Regions from separate parts of the Homo sapiens genome. Here regions 2, 3, 4, 5, 6 and 7 are each linked to region 1. The links are contacts of gene promoters, found by promoter capture Hi-C in blood cells and fetal thymus (Javierre and others, 2016). All regions are on one chromosome and are shown on one strand. The core of a region is centred on a gene start or on the middle of the fragment in contact, and the rest is flanking DNA. Distances in the headings are between cores, read along the strand shown.

The links. Contacts are between HindIII fragments. The CHiCAGO score rates a contact against its expected background, and 5 or more counts as called.
Region 2: a contact is called between a fragment that was not itself captured here and the fragment with the promoter of CD1B in region 1, in 1 of 17 cell types (fetal thymus). The highest score is 6.5, in fetal thymus.
Region 3: a fragment that was not itself captured here is called in contact with the fragment with the promoter of CD1B in region 1 in 1 of 17 cell types (fetal thymus); the score reaches 5.1 in fetal thymus.
Region 4: a fragment that was not itself captured here is called in contact with the fragment with the promoter of CD1B in region 1 in 1 of 17 cell types (fetal thymus); the score reaches 5.4 in fetal thymus.
Region 5: a contact is called between a fragment that was not itself captured here and the fragment with the promoter of CD1B in region 1, in 3 of 17 cell types (fetal thymus, M2 macrophages and M0 macrophages). The highest score is 29.0, in fetal thymus.
Region 6: a fragment that was not itself captured here is called in contact with the fragment with the promoter of CD1B in region 1 in 1 of 17 cell types (fetal thymus); the score reaches 12.9 in fetal thymus.
Region 7: a fragment that was not itself captured here is called in contact with the fragment with the promoter of CD1B in region 1 in 2 of 17 cell types (fetal thymus and M2 macrophages); the score reaches 18.7 in fetal thymus.

Annotation. Positions count from the first base shown.
Region 1 is chr1:158,330,251-158,332,950 of GRCh38, reverse strand. It overlaps CD1B (CD1b molecule), which reads left to right and starts at 1,420. Exons shown (of 6, transcript NM_001764.3): 1 at 1,420-1,588; 2 at 1,889-2,155. The coding sequence starts at 1,528. The HindIII fragment of the contact is 309 bases long and covers 1,159-1,467 here.
Region 2 is chr1:158,131,467-158,134,166 of GRCh38, reverse strand. LINC01704 (long intergenic non-protein coding RNA 1704) reads left to right here. Exons shown (of 3, transcript NR_033946.1): 2 at 974-1,052; 3 at 1,511-2,123. Among named protein-coding and RNA genes, the nearest start is that of SMIM42, 4.5 kb to the right of the region's middle. The HindIII fragment of the contact is 9,432 bases long and covers 1-2,700 here.
Region 3 is chr1:158,112,975-158,115,674 of GRCh38, reverse strand. No RefSeq gene overlaps it. Among named protein-coding and RNA genes, the nearest start is that of SMIM42, 14 kb to the left of the region's middle. RefSeq lists an enhancer at 420-469. The HindIII fragment of the contact is 8,494 bases long and covers 1-2,700 here.
Region 4 is chr1:158,157,323-158,160,022 of GRCh38, reverse strand. The region is part of intron 1 of LOC105371460 (a long non-coding RNA gene); the gene reads right to left. Among named protein-coding and RNA genes, the nearest start is that of LINC01704, 18 kb to the right of the region's middle. The HindIII fragment of the contact is 2,640 bases long and covers 64-2,700 here.
Region 5 is chr1:158,482,860-158,485,559 of GRCh38, reverse strand. The region is part of intron 2 of LOC107985213 (a long non-coding RNA gene); the gene reads left to right. Among named protein-coding and RNA genes, the nearest start is that of OR10R2, 12 kb to the right of the region's middle. The HindIII fragment of the contact is 1,988 bases long and covers 260-2,247 here.
Region 6 is chr1:158,176,116-158,178,815 of GRCh38, reverse strand. It overlaps the pseudogene ELL2P1 and a transcript of CD1D not described here. Among named protein-coding and RNA genes, the nearest start is that of CD1D, 3.4 kb to the left of the region's middle. The HindIII fragment of the contact is 3,494 bases long and covers 1-2,700 here.
Region 7 is chr1:158,499,715-158,502,414 of GRCh38, reverse strand. No RefSeq gene overlaps it. Among named protein-coding and RNA genes, the nearest start is that of OR10R2, 29 kb to the right of the region's middle. The HindIII fragment of the contact is 6,418 bases long and covers 1-2,700 here.

The sequences.
Region 1 (2,700 bases), core at 171-2,670:
GTATAAACACAAAAATAGTAATGTTCATGTCTGTGACAGCCAATGTTAAGTCTCTGCTGTTGTCTATGGCTGTTATCCAAAAAGTAGATTCAATTCTGTCATGTATTGGAGTCTGGGAATGTTGTTAAGAGATACATACATTGAAATTTGGAGAGCTGCTCTGTATTTATCAATTAGGCAGTAATAATCTTGGATGAAGGCTAGTCTTATTAATGTTGTGAACCAGTCTTATTAATGTTGTGAACCAGTAGTGTCCCCAGGAATAGAGAACACTACACTACTCACTTTGCATTTTCTTATCCACATAATAGAATTAGTTAGTGATAACCCTCTTTACTCGGAATCGATTGCTGCCACATTTCTGCATGATACATAGATCTCTGCAAATATGTGATTTTTTTCCTAAATGGAGAAAATCCAAAAATTCTTCTTAAAATTTTTCATGGGCATACAAGAAGATAGGAGGTGACATCTTAAAACAAGTATCTCTGAACTTTTTGTATAAAAAAAAGCAACCTCTTTGCTCTATTATTAATACCACATGTGGTGATATGAATGCCCAAATGTAGACAGCAGTTATGAGATATTACAAGAGAAGAAAAAAGCTCTGCCGCTTATGGCAACTTACCCAAAAAGTTATCTTTGACTTAGGCTGGAGGTGCACATAGCATAGCTCCTAGAGTTCTGTTTATGTCATGAATATTTGTTACTCAAAACTCCATAGGCCAAGAGCTCCTGAAGAGAAGGTCACATGCTAGCAGCAATTGTCATTTTTTCCCTCAAATATTGCTATAGTATAATTTTGTTTGAATTATAAACTTCAGTCTTTATTATATTTGATTCTGGCATTTTGGTTTGTAGTGCTATAGTACAGGAAATGTTTTAAATGCTTTGCCTTTATGTAAGTGAATATCGGTACACACACATACACATACACACACAGACACAGACACACACACACACACACTCACAGCCAGTTTAGAATGTGGGGTAAGGAACACCAGACAAAGAGGGCAATATAAGAAAGAGAAGACATTGAAAACATTGGGAAGAGGCAGTAACAGAGTGCCAGAGAAGATAAGGCAGCTGGGAGGGGGAGAAACTAAGTGAGGTGGATAAACTAAAAGCATCCTTCTGGGTTAAAGCAGACTAAAAGCTTAGCAATTGCTTAATATCACCATCTTATCCTATAGATGTGGGAATAAAGGCTAAGGAAGGAGAAATGAAAATGCAGAATCATATGGGGGCTTTTCCAAGGAGGTATGAAGGAAGGTGAGGACAGGGAGAGCGGCTGGAAGTCAGGGGGTAAGAGAAACTCTAAAAATCAGGGCTTGAGGGAAATAAAAGGTGAGGTAAGAGGCTCAGGGCTGTGGGAGGCACATTTTTCTCTGAAAAGCAGTTTGGATGAGGAAGAGATTTGGCAGTTGGAAGAGAGAAGAAGTCACTACAGGGTACTGAGGAAAAGCTTTGCTGAAATTGGAGATCAAATACCAGCTCTGCCAGTAAGAAGTTGCATCTCCCAGTGAAATGCTGCTGCTGCCATTTCAACTGTTAGCTGTTCTCTTTCCTGGTGGTAACAGTGAACATGGTAAGAGTCACTCTGGCAGCTCCCAGCACTGGTGCAGGGGTTTGGATTTTAAAAAGCAAGCAGGGCTTTCCTAGGTGCAATTGGACACTAAGGGTCTGGGTCTTTCTGTCTCCCGCCCTCTTCAACCATTCTGGTGGTTGGGACTAGAACCTGAAGCCTTAAGGCAGTCAAATGTGTCAGACTTCCTGTGTTCTTTAGACTCTAGGTTCTTGTTTTCTAAATCATTTTCATTCCCATTCTTCCTAATTGTCTCCTGCTTCTCTCTTTATCTTCACCATCTTGCTTTTCCACTCTTCACAGCCTTCCAGGGGCCGACCTCCTTTCATGTTATCCAGACCTCGTCCTTTACCAATAGTACCTGGGCACAAACTCAAGGCTCAGGCTGGTTGGATGATTTGCAGATTCATGGCTGGGATAGCGACTCAGGCACTGCCATATTCCTGAAGCCTTGGTCTAAAGGTAACTTTAGTGATAAGGAGGTTGCTGAGTTAGAGGAGATATTCCGAGTCTACATCTTTGGATTCGCTCGAGAAGTACAAGACTTTGCCGGTGATTTCCAGATGAAATGTGAGTCTAGTCCACCGAACTGGGAAGAGTCTCAAGGACTCTCTTTTCTCTCTTTTTTGCAAAGTGTTGCTCTCTCTGATGCTTCTCCCTTCCTTTCTATTTTACCCAAATGCACGCACATGCTTTTCTTGAGTAGTCTCTCACTCCAGCTTCACACCATCACACCTCATATTTCAGATTCTTGCTGCCTCTGCACTCTTCTCTTACTCTCAGACTGTCTTCCACTTTGTAACCAGCTGCTGGTTTGTCTTATGTGAAACTTCTCCTCAAGGGCCCTTACTTCTCCTACCCTGTGCCTGAGTGATCTAACGTGTGGCTTTCTCCCCTAATCCATCTTTTCAATCATCTCCTCCCCGCACCCTCCTCTTGCTGGGAACCTCCACTCACTCTGGAATGCTGCACTCCTGACTGCACCACGCTCTGCCTCACCTCTCCTTTCATACTCACTGTACTCCTTTATCACATACCTTTGTCTTCATGGCATGCACATTTTTCTCAATGCTCTTGTTTCTGAAAATGTCTAAATGTTATCATTAGTTTTTAGC
Region 2 (2,700 bases), core at 126-2,625, 200 kb after region 1:
ACAGAAGAAGCATGAGAATAAAAAAAGCACTGTGCTGGAAAAATTTTTTTAATCATAAACTAAATTCTTGATTCTAGCACTAATTTCTGCATGAACTTGAGCAAATTACTCAGTCTCATTGAGCCTCAATTAGCCAAAAGGACAAAGCGAGCTGATGCAGGTATAACAGCCCAGTAGCTAGCATAAGAAAAGAAATAATGCCAGTGGCTCACACCTGTAATCCCAACACTTTGGGAAGCCGAGGCAGGTGGATCGCCTACGGTCAGAAGTTCGAGAACAGCCTGACCAACATGATGAAACCCCTTCTCTACTAAAAATACAAAAACTGGTCGGGAGGCCGGGTGCGGTGGCTCACGCCTGTAATCCCAGCACTTTGGGAGGCCGAGATGGGTGGATCACGAGATCAGGAGATGGAGACCATCCTGGCTAACACGGCAAAACCCCATCTCTACTAAAAATACAAAAAAATTAGCCGGGCATGGTGGCAGCCTCCTGTAGTCCCAGCTACTGGGAAGGCTGAGGCAGGAGAATGGCGTGAACCCGGGAGGCGGAGCTTGCAGTGAGCCGAGATCGTGCCACTGAACTCCAGCCTGGGTGACAGAGCGAGACTCCGTCTCAAAAAATAATAATAATAATAAATAAATATAATTTTTTAAAAAAACTGGTCGGGAGTGGTGGCAGGCACCTGTAATCCCAGCTACTCAGGAGGCTGAGGCAGGAGAATCACTTGAACCAGCACAGCAGAGGTTGCAGTGAGCTGAGATCGTGTCATTGCACTCCAGCCTGGGCAACAAGAGTGAAACTCCATCTCAAAAAAAAAAAAAAAAAAGAGAAAAGAAAGAAAGAATGCAGTAAATTATTGCTGTTACTATCTCTCAGAGTTGTTGTTATAAATAAAACACCATGTCAAAGCACCTAGGAAATCATCTTAGTGGAGGTTCGGTAAACTTTAATCTCTTCTCTTCCACATTAGAAATGTAAATTAAATGCTCTCAAGGGATGAGAGACACTGGAAGCTGGGACGCTCTTGGAACTCTGTTGCCATCATCAAGGTGAGAAAACTCAGGGCCTGGTTCAGAGTCCATGGAGGACTCAGGTATTTGAGGTTTAAGTGGTTGGTACGTAATGTCTCCATTTTCCACCTTAATATAAAACGTGTCTCTTTTTCTCATCCAAGTTTTGGACCAGCGGAGACAAAGAAATGAGGCAGATAGCAAAACTCACCTTTATAACTGATTGAAAAAAAACATGGTGGACTGACTCACCACCCAACATAATTATCGATGGAAAACACAGGTCTCTCACTCCTGGGGACATAGCCCTGGGAAATGTACAGAAAGCAGCAGGTGCATGGGGTGCTTTCTGCATCCTGGGGCCAAGAGTGACAGCCAGAGCCTAGAGAGGCCAGGAGTGTTTGTTTAATAGGGTTTCTGCCCCAAGAAAGAAAACACCAGCAATGTAGAGAAAGTGTTCCCCCAATGGCATGTTCTATTTCTTTTTTTCTACTTAGGCTTCCAGATACAGCCCTCTAGGTCATCCAGAGGTGCCAGCCAGCCCTCACCAGTGGTCAGCTTTTCCTCAGTGGAGTGGTAGGTGAGCCAGTGGAGCTTGCTCTGAAGATACTAGAGGGAGCCAAAGCTGTCTGGCCCTTCAGTGTGACTCAGTTTCCAGACTCTTTCTCTTTAGACATAAATGAAGAACAAGTCAACCTTGATGCCTTTGAGGGTTGGTTCAGCGGATGATGTGTTGTGGGGTTTTCCCACAGGTCAGCAGTCCAACTACCAGGGCCAGAGCCCCATCAAAGAATCTTCAGTGCCAGCCAGAAAGAATGATGAACTCCTCGTGTAAAGGGAGTTTGGGGCAACCAGTCAAACCATGGCCTCATGGGAAGCAGCTGACTAGGCAATGAGAGAGGAATACAAAAGACAAGGCACTGCGAAGCCAAGTCTGGTTGGGGAGAAGAAACCAATATGCCTGAAACAGGGAACCAGAAAGGACTCAGACAAAACTGCTGACAAGTATGGGGTTTCTTGGGGTAGGTGGTGAAAATATTCCAAAATAAGATTATAGCGATGTTTTAATAATCCCCTGGATATAATAAAAAAACATCGAATTGTACACTTCAAATGAGTGAACTGTGTGGTATGTGAATTATATATCTCAATAAAGATGTTTTAAAAAGAAGACACAGGCTGGGCACAGTGGCTAATGCCTGTAATACCAACACTTTGGGAGGCTGAAGTGGGCAGATAGCTTGAGCCCAGGAGTTTGAGAACAGCCTGGGCAACATGGTGAAACTCTGTCTCTGCAAAAAATACAAAACAAAACAAAACAAAAACAGCTGGGTGTGGTGGTGCTAGCTGTAGGTATGGTGGCATGCGCCTGTAGTCCCACCTACAAGGGAAGCTGAGGTGGGAGGATCAACTGAACCTAGAAGGTTGAGGCCATGCCACTGCACTCCAGCCTGGGCAACAGAGCAAGACCCTGTTAGTGTGCCAAAAATTGTGTGACTTTAGTCACTTCCCTTCTTTATGCCTCAGTTTCCTCATCTATTAGGTGAAGGAGTGGGAATAGATGACCTCTCTAAGGTTCCCGTATTAACTTCCTGGGGCTGCCATAATAGATTACCACAAATTTGGTGGTTCAAGGCAACAGAAATTCATTCTCTCACAGCTCTGAAGGCTAAAAGTCTGAAATCAA
Region 3 (2,700 bases), core at 138-2,637, 220 kb after region 1:
GGTGTCCTGAAGCTCTGGACATCAACGCCCAGCCCAGTCTCCATATTCTTCTTGTGGCTCCCCTGACATTCCAGCCCAACCCCTCTTGCCCAGATCTGTTAGATACACACCTACCCCAAGCCTTACCTGCTCCTTTTCCTTTCCTACCCCCGGCCTACTCAGCCACTCTCTTCTATAGAGAACCTTCCTAAGTCCACAAAGACACAGAGGACACTCTCTTGTTGGGATATTCTCCTTGGTCTCTACCCCTAACATAGTCATAGATTAACACAGTTGTAGACTTCTGAGTCCATGGAATACAACCTCCTTATTTTACAGAAAAGAGAACTGAGACTCGAGAGATGAGGTAAGTAACCAAGGGCCCACAGCTCAGTCATCTGTATGTAAATGGCATGCCACCACTCACTCCGTTCAGTGCTCATACACCTCTATACAGACATCTGCACGGACACATCATCCATGGCCTGGTGTTATGGTGAGGGTATGGGTGGGGGTGAGAGCTGGGAATAATTCTACACAGGACCCCTGGGAGACAGGCCAGGTATCCTCAGTTCTTTTTAATTTTCATTTATTTGTTCATTTTTTGAGATAGAGTCTCGCTCTGTCACTCAGGCTAGAGTGCAGTCTCAACTCACTGCAACCTCCACCTCTCGAGTTCAAGTGATTCTCCTACTTCAGCCTCCAGAGTAGCTGGGATTACAGGTGCCTGCCACCACGCCCGGCTAATGTTTGTACTTTTAGTAGAGATGGGGTTTCTCCATGTTGGCTAGGCTGGTCTCGAACTCCTCACCTCAGATTATCTGCCAGCCTCGGCCTCCCAAATGTGTTGGGATGACAGGAGTGAGCCACTGTGCCCGGCCCTTGGCCCCCTTTTTAAATTTTTTAAATTTTTTACTTTTTTTTTTTTTTTTTTGAGACGGAGTCTTGCTCTGTTGCCCATGCTGGAGTGCAATGGCATGATTTCGGCTCACTACAACCTCTGCTTCCCAGGTTCAAGCGATTCTCCTGCCTCATCCTCCCAAGTAGCTGGAACTACAGGTGCCTGCCACCATGCCTGGCTAATTTTTGTATTTTTAGTAGAGATGGGGTTTCACTGTGTTGGCCAAGCTGGTCTCGAACTCCTGACCTCATGATCTGCCTGCCTCGGCCTCCCAAAGTGCTGGAATTACAAGCGTGAGCTACCACGACTGGCCAATTTTTTAAATGTTTGTGTGCACTCCTCAGCTTCTTTCTGAGCCATTCTGGGAATCTTACAGTTGGGAAGATAGTCAACCGGCCAACTGGATGCATCAGTCACCCCACACTCCAAAGAACTCCCCAGAAGATGTTGGCCCGGCTTGGCTGTCTTTGGATCTCTGTCTCTCTCTGTCTCTCTCTCTCTCTCTCTGCTTCAGGGAAGGAAACATTTCTGGTGAATGAGGAGGCAACGGGCGAGACCTCAGGAGACAAGGTTGTTCATTCTAGGAATCTGTCTCAGACAATCTTCATCACCCGGAAACGATGGGAGGGGTGATGGGGGTGTCTTTCTGTGGGCATAGGGACAGAGGCCAGGGTCGACTGAGAAACAGACGATGAAGAGACAAGAAGGAAAAGGAGAGATGGCCTAGGACAGGCAGGGAGCCAGCTAAGTTTCCGCCAGGCTGAGTTCCGTGAAGGAAGAGATGCCTATTTTAGTCATCCCTGTATCCCTCCTGCCTCCTTCCTCACCCCCAGGTCCCCAGCACTAAGAAGAGAGTGATGTGGAGAAATGGATGGGGGCACCCAACGAATATGAAGCTGAAAGACAGGGGAAATGGCAGAAACAAAGGACAACCTTTAAGAAGCAAACGGGGTGGCAGAAAGGAAGAGTAGGGACGTGGAGGCAGCAGAAAGGCAGGCCACAGCTCAGGAGTTACGGAGGAGCAGAGGAGGGCAGGGGAGGGCTCGGCCCGCGGAGTCAGCGCTCCTCCCGCGCCGACCTCGGGCTCCGGGCGGCCGCCGGGGGGCGCCGGGCGCATCCTTCGCTGCCAACTCCCCGCCCGTGCCCCCGCTCGCGCCTGGGCCCCGCCGCACTCCAGCAGAAGCCATTACAGAGAACAAACTACCTTCTTGTCTCCGAGATGGGTCCCCGGGGAGGAAGGCAAATTGCCTGCCTCGTGCATAATAAGCCAGGCGTGGAGAGCAGCGCGGAGGAGGCCGCGGCAGCCACCGAGCGGGCAGAGCCTCCCGCCCCCACCCGCCGCCCGCGCCTGCCGAGCCCCCTGCCGAGCGGGCGGCGCGCAGGTCCGGAGAATCTCAAAAGGCTTGGAACACCGGGCTGCTTCCCGGTACCCCCATTCCTGCACAAGTTTGTGACTGTGGGCTTATCCCAGGAGAACCACACCAAGAGCTCGGTGCCTTTGCCCGGGATGCCTTTCTTCATGAGAAAAAGCCGGCTGCCCTTCTCATCCTTCTCGGAAGTTACAGTCTCCTCACTTTGAATTCGACCATCAGAAGTAATCGCTTCCTCTTCCTGCTAAGATAGCACTTTGTTCAGACTCCTAGTATTTAGCGATGACATCACGTTTATAGTTATTTGCATACAGGTACGTCTCTGCTATTGGACTACACATTCCTAAAGGACAGAAACCATAATTTACTTCTGTCCATACCCCAGAGACTTAGCACGGTGTCCAGTACCGAATGCATGAATGAATGAGTTTTAAAAGAAGAACCTAGCCT
Region 4 (2,700 bases), core at 134-2,633, 170 kb after region 1:
TTTTCTGTAGTTAAGAATTATCACCTAATATAATTGTTTGGTAACTGCCTGATTTTTTAAGCTTTATACTGTCAAGTTAAATCTATGAGAAGCTAAAATGATCATAAAGATATCACCCTCATTCAAAGCTCAGACCCAGCAAAATTGCTATATGAATAAAATATGTATACAAACTAATCTTTTTAAAAAACTTTTCCCAAGGCTGTATATGAATATAAAAACCCAGATTTGAATTATACATGCAAACTGTAAAAGCAGAGACACATGCTCCCTATTAAGTCTGTGTTTTAAAATATCCAGTTACCAATCAAGAAACCCCAGTAGATTCCAAAGAAGCATATGTAAGAAACCATGACAAGGTAAAAGATTATTATCTGGCAAGTAGTGCCTAGAATCAGGTCTGAGGGGGCCAGAAGGGACTATGAATCACAAGGTGAGAAAAGATAATTTGCAGCAAATTGGTAAGATATGTGGGAGGAGCTAAAGTAGTTGGGTCTGCCGGGTGAGGTGGCTCACACCTGTAATCCCAGCACTTTGGGAGGCCAAGGCAGGTGGGTCACCTGCGGTCAGGAGTTCTAGACCAGCCTGACCAACATGCCAAAACCCCGTCTCTACTAAAAATACAAAATTAGCCGGGCGTGGTGGTACATGCCTGTAATCCCAGCTACTCGGGAGGCTGAGGCAGGAGAATTGCTTGAATCCAGGAGACAGAGGTTGCAATGAGCTGAGATCGCACCATTGCACTCCAGCCTGGGCAACAAGAGTGAAACTCCATCTCCAAATAAATAAATAGATAAGTAAAATAAAGTAGTTAGGTCAGGTCATGAACAATAAGAGGACATTAGAGGCCTGTTTGTGTCTTTATTGTGGTGCTATCAACTGTGAAAAGCTGAGGCAAGCCTGAGAGCTTGTGAGAACTACAGGACCAGCCAGCAAGTCCTTGTTTCAGCACCAAATTTAATTTATACTGGCTGTGTTAACTTGCACAAGACCCCTACCTTCCTGAATCTGAATTTCCTCATTGGAAAATGGAGTCCATTAATGCCCCCTCACAGAGTTGTGGTACTTGGATTGATCACAGTGGTGCACATATTTACTACATTATTATGCGCTGGAGAGGAGCCAGGCCTACCCTATACCAGTTTTCTCTTCTTAATCACTGGCACCTCCTTTCCTACAGTTGTTGAAGCAAAAAACAGAATCGTTATGTCCTCCTTTCTTTTCTCCAGCTCACATCCATCCCATGAGGAAATCTATCAAATCCACCTTTAAAATATATCCAACAACATGCTACCACCGCTCACCACCTCTACTACAACTACCTGGGCCCCTATCACCAGGTTTCCTTTTTCTTGTTTTCACTCAGGCTATTACAAGAGCTTCCTCACTGGTCTCCCTCTCTGCCCTACCTTTGCATCCTACAGTTCTTAATCGTAACACAGAGAGAGCCTTTTAAAATATGTCAGGTCACACATAGGGTTCATGCCTGTAATCTTAGCATTTTGGGAGGCTGAGCGGGAGGATCACTTGAGCCCAGCAGTTCAAGACCAGCCTGGGTAACAAAGCAAAACACTATCTCTACAAAAAATTTAAAAATTAGCTGGGCATGGTGATGCGTGTCTTTGGTCCCAGCTACTCAGGAGGCTGAGGCAAGAGGACTGTTTAATCTGGGTAGATTGAGGCTGCAGTGAGCTATGATCATGCCACTACCCTCCAGCCTGGGTGACAGAGTGAGACCTTGTCTCAAAAAATAATTAAAAAAAAGAAACTAAATGTGTCACATCACATTATTCATATGCTGAGGCCCTTCCAGTGGCTCAGATCTCACTCAGAGCCCTTACAATGGCCCACAAGGCCTGTGGGATCGGGTTCCCTGCCATACCTCCCTGACCCAAATCTCCTCTTCACTAACTTGGTAACAATCACATTGAAATAGGAGTTCAGCAGGACTTGGTTTTTAAGACACAGGTCACAATGACCCCACTGATAAAACAACATACAGTAAAGAAGCCAGCCAAAATCAGCCAGAACCAAGATGGTGACGAAAGCGGCCTCTAGTCATCCTCACTCCTCATTATATGTTAATTATAATGTATCCGCATGCTAAAAGACACTCCCACCAGCTGCCAAGACAGTTTACAAATGCCAGGCAACATCCCAAAGTTATGGTGGAAAGATATGGTCGAAAAACGGAGGGAACCCTCATTCCAGGAATTCCGTGCCCCTTTCCTTTCCCAGAAAATTCATAAAGAGTCCACCTCTTGTTTAGCTATGATCAAAAATAACCGTGGAAATAGCCAACCAGCAGCTCTCAGGGCTACTCTGCCTATGGGGTAGCCACACTTTTTATTCCATTACTTTTTACTAAATTTGCTTTCACTTTACTCTGTTGGCTCAATCTTGAATTCTTTTCTGTGTGAAGCCAAGAAGCCATGTGGCCTCCCAGGCTGAGCCCCAGTTTTGAGGTTCACCCTGTGACAACATGTCCTACTGATGCCTTGATTTTAGCACAGTGAGACTCATTTCAGACTTCTTACCTCTAGAACTGTAAATTTGAGAAATTTCATTGTTTTAAGCCACTCAGTTTGTGCCTGCCATCAACACTGTCTCAAATTATTTATTCCTACACCTTATGGTCCATTGTAAATCACAAGCCTGCGAACCCAGAAAATCTTAGACAAGTCTCAGTTAATTTAGAAA
Region 5 (2,700 bases), core at 4-2,503, 150 kb before region 1:
CCCACTGAGCCCTGCCAAAATTGCAGACTTGTGTGCAAAATAATTACAGCTCATTTAAGCAACTAAAGTTGTAGAGAGTTGATTATGCAGCAGTAAATAATGAGAACAGAATTTGGTATCTAAAGGCAGGGTGCTGTTATAATCAACATTTAAAACATTTGGCATTAATTTTGCAATTGGTGGTATAAATAATCCATAAGGACTTAAGGAGTCTCTTACTAAAAGGTGAAAGGATCATAAGGCAACTCTTGGTAAAGCTTTGAAGCACAGAGAGAAAAATATTTGAAGGACAGAGAGGAAACTGTTATCATACTTAGGTAAAACATGGATACTTATTATCCATTGCTCTAAAGTTTGGCAGCAGGACCACATGCTACAGCCTGGAAAATAGACTATTTAGTAATCTCATTATCTTCCTGGGTAAATTTCTAGGAAGACTATAGAAAATTCCAACCAATGATAAAATATGAAAAGAGAGTAGACAGCAGGATACTAGAGGAAGGGAATAGTAGAGAAAAGGGAAGGATAGGTGGAGATTTGCTAAAGGATACAAAATTACAGCTAGATAAAGGAATAAGTTACAGTGTTCTTTGCTACTGTAGGATGACTATAGTTAACAGTAATGTATAGATTCAAATTGCCAGAAGGAGGGTGTTGAACATTCCCAACATGAAGAAATGATAAATGTTTGAGATGATGATATGCTAATTACCTTGATCTGATCCCTATAACATTATTTATATCAGAATATTACTATGCACCTAAGGAATATGAACAATGACTATTTGTCAATTTAAAAGTACATAATTTTTTAAAGTTTCTTAAGTTTCTGAGAATTTAGAGGAAACAGAAAGAAACAAAACTTGTTGGGTTTGCAAATAAAGATGTTTCTCATGCACAGTCTCTCTCAACAAAGACTCTCAAGGTACAAAATGGCTTCAAGGAAGAAATCAAATCCAAGGTGCTATCAGGAAACCAATGCCTCAGGGTAAACCTCTTAAGAATGTAGCTGTAATACTTTTTGTTAGAACTCAGAAATATTTTAGGCTATACCCAACAAGATTTATAAATATCCTAAGGGCCTGACTCCTTAAAGTTAAGCAATAAGTCTTTTTAAGAATCTTAAGGGAATTGCCATACAGCAGTTATTAATACTGCTACCTCACAAGTGACCCATAATAAAGAAATGAATATGGATGTGACTTTTATCTAATGGAATTAATTTATAAACTGAAACATAAGAAACTCACCAAGTTTTAAAAAGGCATTCTATCAACATGTGCTAAAGGCTACAGAGCAAACAGAAATGAATAGACCTTTGGACCCTCAACTTCTTCCATGGAGGTATCAGACTAAGAAATGACATGTCTGCAAATTGTAGCTATGTCTTGCAGATAAAAAAGGATGATCAGAAAGTGGGGAAATGGCATCACAGGTTAGATCTAAGAGTCATGGAATTCATTCCCAGAAAATAGGACTGGCAACAGTGTCCAGATGAATTTCAGAATTTCTATGGACCAATGACTGTGATGTGTCTAATTTCCTCCTTTTTCACAAGGGAATGTCCATTGCTATTCCTATGCCCATCACATCATTGTCTTTTTGGGTGTCAGGAGCAGACAACCTGCTGGTATTATGCCTTAAAAGACTAGCAGCTTCCTCTTTCTGTTTCTTGGAATGTTTAGTCTTTGAAACCAGTCATGATGTTGTGAGAAAGTTTATAGAACCCCATGAAAAGGGCCACATGGAGAGATACTGACTCTCACAACCTATAGCCCTGACTCAGCTCCACTACAAATCAGCATCATTTTGCCAGCCGTGTAAATGAGCCAAATGGAAGTGGGTCCCTCAATTCTAGTTGAGCAGCTCAGTTGACATTGTATGGAGTTAAGACAAGCCAATCTTATAAGCCCTCTCCCATTTAAGAGATTAATGAGCAAAATAAATTATCATTGTCATTGTTATTTTTAATTACTGTTATGGGGGACATAAATATTGCTACACTTTCACATGTAGTTTCAGATGTTTTTCTTAGCTAGACCAAGAAGTCATTTATTCAATTAAAGTTAAGAGACATGTATTAGTTATCTCCTGAATGTCAGGGATATAAAAGACATTTAGGAGGAGTTAATGTATCGGTATAATAAATTACTTCCTTTCACGTTGTTGATTGTCCATTAGAGAAAATAAGATATGTACATAATCAGCTCAATATGTCAGAGCTCAGTAAGAAGTATAAGTAAAGCTTACAATGCTATGGTGTTTTGAAGAATGGAAATCAGGTAATACTTCATGAAACAGGTGAAAATAAAAAAAACTTTGATGGTAGACATTGGACAAAGAAGGAGATAATCTTTTCAAATAAGACCTTTTTTGATTCTTAGGCCGGTACAGGACCATTCTCCATAGGATCCCACTTTATAAGCTGTAAGTAAAGAAATGTGGTGCACAGAATGGCAAATTTATGTTTATCTTCTACTGCCTTTTTAATTAATGATGGCTATAGTATGATGATGGCAAACAAGGCCATTTTGTCACTGCAAATTATTTTCCTGTAGAAGTATTATTCTACTGTTTATTATTATAATATCTTTTAAACATAATTTTAACTCTTTCTTGTTTCTACTAATAAAAAAAGGAATTCAAGAGACCTATATGCCAGGATGGTAGGAAACTAGAGCCATATAGTAAGATAGAAAA
Region 6 (2,700 bases), core at 15-2,514, 150 kb after region 1:
AAAATATTTTATAACAAGACTGACTCAGAATACCCTAGCACAGAGAGATGGTGATTTACTCAGAGCCTTAAAATAAGCCCACGGTGGGTACTACATGATCTCACTTATATGTGGACTCTAAAATAGTTTACTATTTTATGGAAACAGAGTTAGGGTAGTGGTTTCCAGGAGCTGGAGGGAAGGGGCAAATGTGTTAATTTTGGTCAAAGGGTTTCAGCCTCTCAATTTTGAGAGGCTGACCAAAACCTTGGAGCCTGATCATAAGGGACTTACTTGGTTTCAGTTCAGAATTCACAATTCACAACGTCAAATTAGTTGGAATCTTATATGCTTTCTTCATGTTTTTGTTATCCTAACCATAAGGAGACCATTTAATGTACAAAGGATAGCTGCATATGAGAATTTAAGATTCTTGAGAGGACACATCAGGGAAACTTTTATAATAGCTATCAGGAGGATAATACCAACGAACTAAAGAACTCTTCTTAATAGCACTTTCCACAAGCCAACCTGATCAAAATCAAACAATTCAAAGTTCAGTCAATAAAGTTTAACAGCATTCAAGTGCAATTGCTCATAGTCTTTATTCAGAGCATAATGGTGATCAAGGACCGTAGTTTGCTGTAAAATGGCCTGATTTAAAGAGGTATTCATTTTTGTAAGTAGCCTGATAATACAAACCACAGTAACCTGGAGATCCACTAAAAGAAACATAAGGATTAGAAAACCTTGTGATAGCTCTCTTACCTCTCGGACGTCCAGTCCCAGGAGCAAAACTCCAGCGACTTTGGGCCCCGCCCCCGTGAAAGTGGAGGGCGGCCGATGAGGACGGTTCTGAGGGAACTAGACCAATGAGACTAGCCTGGGGCGGGGCGCGGGGCCAGAGGGTGGGGCAGGTGGCGGCGATGGCAGTCCGAGGTCTGGCTCCGCGCAGTATATGACAGTACGCCAGCAGCGGGATGGCCCTAGCAGTGGCGGCGGCTGCAGAAGCCCAAGCAGCTGCGGCCGCAGTGGAGGCTGGAGCTGGACTGGCGGCGGCGGCACCTCTGGGAGTTTAAGATGTCGGGGGTGGGGGGGTCGCGGGGCAGCGCTATGGGCTCTCGTGCGGACGGCTGGGGCAGGACAACATCACCGTACTGCATGTGAAGCTCACCGAGTCGGCGATCCAGGCGCTCCAGACTTACCAGAGCCACAAGAATTTAATTTCTTTTCGACCTTCAATTCAGTTCCAAAGACTCCAGGAGCTTGTCAAAATTCCCAAAAATGATCCCCTCAATGAAGTTCATAACTTTAACTTTTATTTGTCAAATGTGGGCAAAGACAACCCTCAGGGCAGCTTTGACTGCGTCCAGCAAACATTCTCCAGCTCTGGAGCCTCCCAGCTCAATTGCCTGGGATTTATACAAGATAAAATTACAGTGTGTGCAACAAACGACTCGGATCAGATGACACGAGAAAGAACGACCCAGGCAGAGGAGGAATCCCGCAACCGAAGCACAGAAGTTATCAAACCCGGTGGACCATATGTAGGGAAAAGAGTGCAAATTCGGAAAGCACCTCAAGCTGTTTCAGATACAGTTCCTGAGAGGAAAAGGTCAACCCCCATGAACCCTGCAAATCCAATTCGATAGACACACAGCAGCAGCAGCGTCTCTCAGAAGCCATACAGGGACAGGGTGGTTCACTTACTGGCCCTGAAGGCCTACAAGAAACCGGAGCTACTTGCTAGACTCCAGAAAGATGGTGTCAATCAAAAAGACAGGAACTCCCTGGGAGCAATTCTGCAACAGGTAGCCAATCTGAATCCTAAGGACCTCTCGTATACTTCAAAGGATTATGTTTTTAAAGAGCTTCAGAGAGACTGGCCTGGATACAGTGAAATAGACACTTGGTCATTGGAGTCAATGCTCTCTAGAAAACTAAATCCATCTCAGAATGCTGCAGGCACCAGCCGTTCAGAATCTCCAGTATGTTCTAGTAGAAACGCTGTATCTTCTCCTCAGACACGGCTTTTGGATTCAGAGTTTATTGATCATTTAATGGATAAAAAAGCCCGAATATCTCACCTGACGAGCAGAGTACCACCAACACTAAATGGTCATTTGAATCCCACCAGTGAAAAATCTGCTGCAGGCCTCCCTCTGCCCCCTGCAGCTGCTGCCATCCCCACCCCTCCACCGCTTGCCTTCAACCCATCTGCCGGTTTCACATCCTCCTCAGATTGTAAATTCTAACTCCAATTCCCCTAGCACTCCAGAAGGCCGGGGGCTCAAGACCTACCTGTTGACAGTTTTAGTCAAAACAATAGTATCTATGAGAACCAACAAGACAAGTATACCTCTAGGACTTCTCTGGAAACCTTACCCCCTGGTTCAGTTCTATTAAAGTGTCCAAAGCCTATGGAAGAAAACCATTCAGTGTCTCACAAAAAGTCCAAAAAGAAGTCTAAAAAACATAAGGAAAAGGACCAAATAAAAAAGCACGACATTGAGACTATTGAGGAAAAGGAGAAAGATCTTAAGAGAGAAGAGGAAATTGCCAAGCTAAATAACTCCAGTCCAAATTCCAGTGGAGGAGCTAAAGAGGATTGCACTGCCTCCATGGAACCTTCAGCAATTGAACTCCCAGATTATTTGATAAAATATATTGCTATCATCTCCTATGAGCAACGCCGGAATTATAAAGATGACGTCAGTGCAG
Region 7 (2,700 bases), core at 140-2,639, 170 kb before region 1:
TGGCCTGGCTGCTTCTAACAACCTAACTCAGATGTGGGCACAAAGGAATACCTTAAAGCTGAAACTTATATTTAAAAGGAAAGTAGAGAATAAAAGTTTGAGAAATCTGCAGCCTGGCAATGTGGCAAAGGAAGAAAAAGCTCTTGAGGGGAGAAGAATTCAAGCAGGTTGTGGAACAACCACTTTACTAAAGAAATTTGCATACTTAAGTGGGTCAGGCGTGGTGGCTCACGCCTGTAATCCCAGCACTTTGGGAGGCTGAGGTGGACGGATCACAAGGTCAGTAGATCGAGACTGTCCTGGCTAACATGGTGAAACCCCATCTCTACTAAAAATACAAAAAAAAAATTAGCTGGGTGCGGTGGTGGGCGCCTGTAGTCCCAGCTACTCTGGCTGAGGCGGGAGAATGGCGTGAACCTGGGAGGCATAGCTTGCAGTGAGCCGAGATCATGCCACTGCACTCCAGCCTGGGTGACAGAGCAAGACTCCATCTCAAAAAAAAAAAAAAAAAAAGAAAAAAAAAGAAATTTGCATACCTATGAAGGAGCCAAGTGCTGATAGTCAAGACAATGGGGGAAAAGCCTTGAAGGCATCTCAGAGACCTCTGTGGCAGCCCCTTCCATTAAAGGCCCAGAATCCCTACTGCCACACACACAGCTTCATGACACTGCTCCCTGCATCCTGCTGCTCCAGCTTCAACTGGGGCTCAAAGGGGCCCAGGTACTGCTCAACATGCTACTTTGGAGAGTTCAAGCCACTGTAAGCCTTGGCAATTTGCACATGATTTTAAGCCTGTAGGCACACAGAGTTCAGAGTGAATGAGAATTTGCACCATCTGCCTAGATTTCAGAGGACATATGGAAAAGCCTGAGTGCCCAGACAGAGGCCTGCTGCAGGGGTGGGGAACCCCACAGGGAACCTCTACTATGGCAATGCAGAGGGGAAATGTGGGTTTGCCCCCCGCCCCAGAGTTCCCACTGGGGCACTGCCTAGTGGAGCTGTGAGAAGGGGACCGCCATCCTCCAGACCCCAGAAAGGAAGATCCACTGTCAGCTTGCCCTCTGCACCTGGAAAAGCCAAGAACACTCAACACCAACCCGTGGAAACAGCCATGGGTATTCAACCCTGCAAAGCCATAGGGATACAGCTGCCCTAAGCCTTGAGAGCCATGACTGACACCTCTCTGAGGAGCTTGCAGCAGTGTGACCTGGATGTAGAATATGGAGTCAAAGGATATTATTTTGGAGCTTTAAGATTTAATGACTGCCCTCCTGGCTTTAGGACTTGCTTGGGGCCTATAGCCCCTATTTTTTTGGCCAATTTCTTTCTTTTAGGATAGCAACGTTTACCCAATACCTGTATCCCTATTGTATCTTGGAAGTAAATAACTTGGTTTTGATTTTATAGGTTCATGAATGAAAGGGACTTTCCTTGTCAAAGATGAGACTCTGGACTTCGGACTTGTGAGTTAACACTGGAACAAGTTAAAACTTTGGAGGACTCTTAGGAAGGCATAAATATATTTTGCAATGTGAGAAGGACATAGATTTGGGAGGAGCCGGAGAAATATTGATATAGTTTGGATATTTGTCCCCACACAAATCTTACGTTGAATTGTAATCACCAGTGCTGAAGGTGGGAGGTGTTTCGGTCATGGGGGTGAACTTCGCATGACTTGGTCTATTTTTATGATAGTGAGTAAGTTCTCACAAGATCTTGCCATTTCAAAATTTGCAGCACCTTCCCCCAACTCTCTCTCTCCTGTTCTGGTCATGTGATGTGCCCGCTCCTGCTTCACCTTCCACCATGATTGAAAGTTCCCTGAGCCTTCACCAGAAGCCAAGTGGATGCCAGCACCATGCTTCCTGTAAATTCTGCAAATCATGAGCCAACAAAACCACTTTTCTTTATAAATTACCCAATCTCAGGTATTTCTTTATAGCAATGCAAGAATGGCATAATATATGATTACAGTTACCAATACCTTTTGATCAGGGGGTGGATTCATGTTAAATGTTCTTATCACACACAAAAAAAGTCAGTGTTGACCTAGTTGAAAAACTAGCTTATTTGTGACTCATGCTATATTAAAAAACAACTACTGAATAAATCAAGAGTGCTATTGTTTTTTCTGAGTGAAATTGTAATTGACCTATGTAACCCTTGTTTCAAATGTCCTTGTTAGAATTTTCAGAAAAATTTTAGTGGAGTATATTTTATAAACATCTCCTGACATTAACATAATTCTAGGGCTCATAGGGATGAATAAATCTAAATTCTGTCAAAATTTTAAAAAGAAAGAAAATTAAGAATGTAATTGCCTTTTAGCTCCAAATCTACCTTTACTTGTCCTGATTGTGTTACTGGAATGTTTCTCCTTTACCAGCAGACATGATGTTAAGCTCTTCTGTAGAAGGCGTGAAGGGACACTGAAGTTAAAACGGAGTTCTCTTCCCATTTCTGGCTGCTTTCATCTGCCTGGACATGCTGTGTGTGTGAAGTCTAGTAACAAGTAGGACGCCCAGTAGTGCTACTTCCCAGGCAGTACCATCATCAAAGGTATTTTGCCAGAAGGTTGCAAACAGAAGCATCCTCCCATAGATGCCCCCCACCCACAGAGTACTTCAGAGAGTGGTTTTCCAGCAAGTTCTAAAGTATAGCTCTTCCTTATGGATGGCTTCCCATGAGGACTAAGAGGGC